Linked DNA regions of Homo sapiens: region 2 is linked to region 1. Evidence: promoter capture Hi-C in 16 types of primary human blood cells and fetal thymus (Javierre and others, 2016). All regions are on one chromosome and are shown on one strand. The core of a region is centred on a gene start or on the middle of the fragment in contact, and the rest is flanking DNA. Distances in the headings are between cores, read along the strand shown. Region 1 holds the start of ITPRIPL1 (ITPRIP like 1). Region 2 holds the start of TXNDC9 (thioredoxin domain containing 9).

What was found. Contacts are between HindIII fragments. The CHiCAGO score rates a contact against its expected background, and 5 or more counts as called.
Region 2: a contact is called between the fragment with the promoter of TXNDC9 here and the fragment with the promoter of ITPRIPL1 in region 1, in 1 of 17 cell types (neutrophils). The highest score is 5.9, in neutrophils.

The regions. Positions count from the first base shown.
Region 1 is chr2:96,323,452-96,326,680 of GRCh38, forward strand. It overlaps ITPRIPL1 (ITPRIP like 1), which reads left to right and starts at 1,866. Exons shown (of 3, transcript NM_001008949.3): 1 at 1,866-2,114; 2 at 2,296-2,398; 3 at 3,191-3,229. The coding sequence starts at 2,389. RefSeq lists a silencer at 1,781-2,030 and an enhancer at 2,053-2,553. The HindIII fragment of the contact is 6,653 bases long and covers 1,271-3,229 here.
Region 2 is chr2:99,334,777-99,337,810 of GRCh38, forward strand. TXNDC9 (thioredoxin domain containing 9) reads right to left here and starts at 1,557. Exons shown (of 5, transcript NM_005783.4): 1 at 1,463-1,557. EIF5B (eukaryotic translation initiation factor 5B) reads left to right here and starts at 2,613. Exons shown (of 24, transcript NM_015904.4): 1 at 2,613-2,813. The coding sequence starts at 2,779. RefSeq lists enhancers at 1,042-1,271, 1,325-1,865, 1,402-1,451, 1,702-1,851, 2,212-2,261 and 5 more and a silencer at 2,882-3,034. The HindIII fragment of the contact is 22,802 bases long and covers 1-3,034 here.

The DNA of each region.
Region 1 (3,229 bases), core at 616-3,115:
AGACCAGGCATGGTGGCTCATGCCTGTAATCCCAGCACTTTGGGAGGCCAAGGTGGGCAGATTGCTTGAGCTCAGGAGCTCGAGAACATGGTGAAACCCCCACTCTACTAAAATACAAAAAAATTGCCGGGCTTGGTGGTGTGTGCCTGTAATCCCAGCTATTTGGGAGGCTGAGGCAGGAAAACTGCTTGACCCAGGAGGTGGAGGTTGCAGTGAGCTGAGATGGTGCCACTGCACTCCAGCCTGGGTGACAGAGCAAGACTCCGTCACACACACACACAAAATAATAATAGTAATAATATATAGTTTCAAATAGCTAGAGGGAGGATTGAACCTTCCCAACACAAAGAAATGATAAATGTTTGAGATGATGGATATGCTAATTACCCTAATCTGAAATTATACATTGTATGTATGAAACATGACTGTGCACCCTATGAATATGTACAATTATTATTTGTTAATTAAAATAATACAACTTTAAAACACATGGTCTTAAACATTATCGTTTTTGCACACTCTGAAGCATATATTTTGCATCCTGACATCATGTCATAAGTGAAAAGATAAGAGACTTTCATTATTACTGCTCCAAATGCATGAATGCTCAATAACCTGTGATCTATTTTTCATAATTCACATTTATAAAAAGTAACTTTGGAACTTCAGTCATTGTCAGCTAGCAGACAGTTTTTCCTGCTCCACAATTAAATAAGTCAGTATTCTTGGAAGTATTGTACAAGTTGTTTGGGAGCTCCCTACACATTGCCACTGGATAAGAAGACCTGAAACCCAGCCATGTGTGATGGCTTACACATATAATCCCAGCATTTTGGGAGGCCGAGGCGGGCAGATCACCTGAGGTCAGGAGTTCGAGACCAGCATGGCCAACATGGTGAAACCCCGTCTTTACTAAAAATACAAAAATTAGCTGGACATGGTGGCATACACCTGTGGTCCCAGCTACTCAGTAGGCTGAGGCAGGAGAATCACTGGAACCTGGGGCGGGTAGGCTGCAGTGAGCCAAGATGGTGCCACTACACTCCAGCCTGGGTGACAGAGCGAAACTCTTTCTCAAAAACAAACAAACAAATAAAAACCCTGAAACTTGTCTTTCAGCAGAGGGATTTTAGTGAGTTAGTATCAAGGGGTCATCACTTCCTTTTCTTCTTGGATAGCTGACACAAGACAGGAAGACTAAGGGCTCTTTCTGATATCTGAAGATCCCTTTCAGGAAACCCATTCTGTTGTGTTTCTTAAGGTGTGATAAAGCTTGTCCAGCCTCCACACCGTATAAAGTTCTCCTTTATACACCCATGTATCAGCAGAGCTGCCCTGTAGGTAGGATTCTTACTCCCACGTGGCCAGTGAGTAGCAAGCAAGGCCCCAAGTAAGGTCTTTGGGTGCTGTCTGTTCTTTCATGAGAGTCACTTTGATATGAGAAAGGGGTTGGGGAAAGATGCCTGAGTCTGGGCGTGGGCTGGGAGGGAAGCACATTTAGGGTGCTGAAACCACATCTTATTTCGTGTGCCATTTTGCTCAGGGCCAGCCCGAAGTGAGAATGGCTTTTCTCGGTCAATTCCTAGTTTTGCCACCATCATCCTTACACCCGAATCCTAGTAAGTCTGTTCTCCACTGAACTGAGCTGAGTGCAGCTGACAGCAGGCACGGCGGTGCCCCATTTGCCACCCCAGGGAGGCCGAGCAGCGGAGAGTGTGTGGCCACGGCCCCTCCACTCTCCCAGCAAACCCACGGGGGCCTCGGTGCGGACAGAGACCCGGTGTGGGGAGGCCGCTGCCCCTGCACGCTGGGCCACGGGGGTTTGGGCGGGGAGGAGCTTGTACTGGGTGGGCGGGGAGGAGCCCGGACGGCGGGAGCGGCTGCGGCGCGCGGGCGCCCTCGGAGCCGCGTGCTGGGGGTCGTAGGGGCCCACCGCGCTCAGCCAGACGTTCAGACGCTCGGACAAGCATGGTCTATAACCCAGGAAAGGGGAGCAGGGCCACTCCCGCGGGCGGCCCCAGCGATGAACCGGACGCCCCCACCCTGCCGGGAAAAAAGCAGTGGCGGTCAGGCCGCGCTGTCTCTTTAAGATCGTGTTCCTACTAACACTGACGGTGAGTAACCTGGCCCTGGGTCCCGGGAGACATCCCGAGGTAGGATGGGCCCTTGGCCTCCTACGGATAGGCGGGTGAGAGTACAAATCTCTGGGCGTGGAATTTGGGGAAGTTATGAATGGGGGGAGGGTCGGGTTCCGATTTGAGCCAAAGCCCCCAGGTACCTTGTACATTTTAACAGGGCTCCTAGAGAGGGCGGGGAGACGAAGCAAGGCCAAGTTCCAAAGGGAGGATAGGCCCAGCTGGCTTCAGCGTCCACACGGCATAGTCCTTCATGAATGTTGGTAAGCGCGGTAGCTTGTGAATTAGGGTGAGTGGCAGAAGCTCGGGCTTCACGGGTGGGTGGGGAGGCAGTGGAACTGACCACTGCCGGCTGTCAGGTAGGCCTTGGGCACCTGGTTCTGCAGACAGTTTTCTGAACTAAGAAGTGAAGCTAGCCTGCCCACACACGGGGTATCCACTAGCCCCTTAGGAGCAGAGAGGGCACCGTAGCAAGCAGCTGGCGGCACTGTGCCTCTCTTGCGCTCCCTGGGCAGAGAGGGAGAGGCTGAGTGATGAGGCTCACTTCATACTGGGTGAGCAGAATGAAGACTGTGAAGTCACAGAGGAAGTGGAATGCTACAACTGGCTGCCGGGGCAGAGGAAAGGTGTCACCCAGGCAGGTTCAGGGCTTTCTGGCTATAAAAGGGAGCCTCTGGGATCAGCAGGTCATATCTGGTGCCCATGGTTGACTGAGGAGTCGGGTGAGGCCACCCTACCACAAGGGTCCCCCTCCCCATCCTACACAGGAATGAAAACAGTCCCATGTACACTTTCTGGAAGCCTAAATACCACCCACACCATGTGGAAGGAAAGCAGGAGAGAGACTGAGTGGCACATCCTTTCGCCCTCTTTTCTCTCGAACCTCCTCCCAGGCCGACCACCCTTGCTGTGTCCAAGCCAAGCTCTGTGGGCTTTCTGTTCCTCCTGAGTAGCTGATTTTCAGAATTTGGGGTACCAGGGCTCTGGGGAATGTGAGCTAGAGAGCAGATAAGTCTGGAAGATGACCACTGACTCCTACTCTCCTACTTCTCCAGATGCAGAGGCCTCCATGGCTGTGATAAGCCTGCTGTTCT
Region 2 (3,034 bases), core at 307-2,806, 3.0 Mb after region 1:
TCTCCGCTCACTGCTAGCTCCGCCTCCTGGGTTCACGCCATTCTCCTGCCTCAGCCTCCCGAGTAGCCGGGACTACAGGCGCCCGCCACCACGCCCGGCTAATTTCTTTTTGTATTTTTAGTACAGACGGGGTTTCACCGTGTTAGCCAGGATGGCTACGATCTCCTGACCTCGTGATCCGCCCGCCTCGGCCTCCCAAAGTGCTGAGATTACAGGCGTGAGCCAGCCGCGCCCGGCCAAAATTTTACTTCTTTTAAAAGAAATGGAGTATTTTGTACGAGAAATTTTATACCAACAATTAGAGGGCAAGTTTATGTGTATCTCAGGGTTATTACTGCAGAAATGATTTATAATTTGCCTATCAAAGCAGGAGGCTGTTGCATATCAATGAACTATGATACATTTGCAAATAATACTGAAGCACCCCAAACTTCACAACAAACTGTGAATTCATTCACTCAGCTTCTGACACAGATTCTGACCCACACAGGCCCTCTATAAACGTTGAGCTGAAGAGAAATATTCTTGCAAACTTCAATTCTGATTCCTTTTTCTTTACAGGAAAAGGATTTGAAAAGCATACTTGATTTCATCTTTGTATCTCCATAGAACACAGCAGGTACTCAATAAACATGTATTTAACGTTGAATGAACACGTGCCTGACTTCTGTTCAAATTACTACACTGTTAAGTTTCAAAAGTATTTGAGTCTAAAAAACCAAATTGTAAGCTCCTCGTGAGTGCTATAAAATTGGAAAGGTGCTGTATTTCAAACACAGCAAAGATTTCCACGCTCCCTATCGCCCAAGAAAAATGTCAGTAGGACTGTGACCCTCAGTGAGGGGGCTGGAAGGAGAAGATAATAAGATACTGAATTGAACGTTGGAAGCTGTGCTCCAGGGATAAGCACAGAGAATGCCTACCCTGGAACTTTATAGAATGAGCCCAGAATTTAATTATGGGATAACTGGAAAAAGACGAGATTAAGAAGAGCTATTCTGGGTGTAGGTGTTGGTGGTCAGAGCATTGAGAATGGGGTAAAGAGACGATGCAACCCCTCGTTAGCTTTTCATTTTTCAAACCACAGCCTCTGATTCTTCCTTTTTACAGCTCCGCTGGAAGGGTGGGACGGGACACAGCGCGTCCTCAAATTCCCTAGTCATTTCCTGGACACCCTTACAGGTATCCGCCAAAACAATCAAGGGGCCTGGTCCTTAACTGAACCCCAGGTACCTCCCCAATGGCAAGCCGGCCACTCCCTGCGCCCGGGGAAACAGAGGAAAGCACAGTCCCGGTGGCCCCAACTTCGACGCCTCCTGGTGCGCTTGCGCAAGAGCCTCTGCCAGGACACCGACACCGGTGCTGGGGCCGCGCCCCTCCTCCGCTCCGGATGTGGAGCAGCAGAATGTTCACCAGCACCCGGACGTGGTGGTCGGATTCTTCTCACTACCCTCTGCCTCACCTGAGCTCTCGGTGACGCCTGAGAAGTGAAAGAGCAGCAGTTTCAAAAGACACGTCCACTCCGGCTTTTGCCTTGCAGTAGCTGCCGGCGGCTGCAAACGGGCCGTCACATCCGCCTCCTTATTGGCTGCGAACCTCGCGCGATATCACCTTGGACGCCAGAGGAAGGGGCGGGCGGTCGGGTGGCGAACAGTTCTGCGCGTGCGCCTCCCGCCCAGCAGCCCGGAACCCAAGGTGTCCGACCCTTGCTTTCCTCCGGGTACACGGCCGAACTGGAAGGCCGCAAAGCATTGTGGGAGTTGCAGTTTCTTAGTGCGCAGGCTGTCGTGGCCGGACTTTCTCAGGAGCGTGCTTCAGTATTCACGGTCCAGTGCGCCAGACTGGAAATGAGACAGCTGTGCTCTCGCTCAGCCGTGACGCTTGAACTGCGTTTCCATTCTGTTAGTGTTGAATGAACATTTTTCTTTTTTTTGTTTTCTTTTGTTAACATTTTTCCTAAAGTCGAGGCATAAACATATACAGCACAATTAACTTTTGCATAGTTAAAACCCAAAATATCACCGGCCAGATCCAGATATAGAACATTTTCCACCACCCCTGTAGGTCCCCTCTTGACTCTTCGAAACACAGGAATTTTTAGAACTCGCCCTCGCTTTGAGGGTGAAGCTGAAGACCTATGTTAGGGAATTGATCGGCTGTGTCCTGTTCTGTTTTATTCAGTGACTGTACATAATGCATAATGCATGGATGTTACTGAGAGGTCCCTATTTTGTCCTGAATTTATCTCTCTCGCAAACCCCCAGAGGACTCTATTGGTTCGTTGTGGTTCTTTACTGAACTTCGTGCGGCTGAGAATACAAAGATATAAAGGGAAGCCCAAAGCCCACTCCTGAACCGAAGCGTGCGTTCCCCGTTGGGAGAGGGGTGAGGTGGCGAAATTGACAGCTTCATTGTCCACCTCCGGGTTCTAGAACGTGGAAAACCCGCGGGTGTCGGCTCGTGGCGGACGCTTGAGGGCAGGGGGCGCTCGGGCTGCTGCCTGGTCGGCCGGTCAACCGGAGACGCTCTACCCGAAGCGCAGCTCTCGATGAGCCGCGCCCTGCGTCCTCACGCCGAGGCGGCTGGGCGATGCGCTTGCGCACTGAGAACTCACACCATATGTGTCCTGTTCCAGTGCGCGGGTCTGTGGAGAGCCGGGTGCGAGCGGCGGCAGCACGAGGGGAAAAGAGCTGAGCGGAGACCAAAGTCAGCCGGGAGACAGTGGGTCTGTGAGAGACCGAATAGAGGGGCTGGGGCCACGAGCGCCATTGACAAGCAATGGGGAAGAAACAGAAAAACAAGAGCGAAGACAGGTAGATAGGGGTTGGGTCCGTACGGCGGCGGCCGCCGTGGCTCAGTGGAGTGTGCGGGTCTCGCCGGGCGCGGCGTCGGACCGGGGTCTGGGCTCGCGATGAGCTTCGCGGGGTACCAGGCCTGGGCCCAGAGTGTGCGGAGCGGGCCCAAGCCCCCGGGCCGGGTGGGCACGTAGGGCCTCGACGGCGGGCGGGTCCTCCCAGTCGAGCCTCGCTCCCCC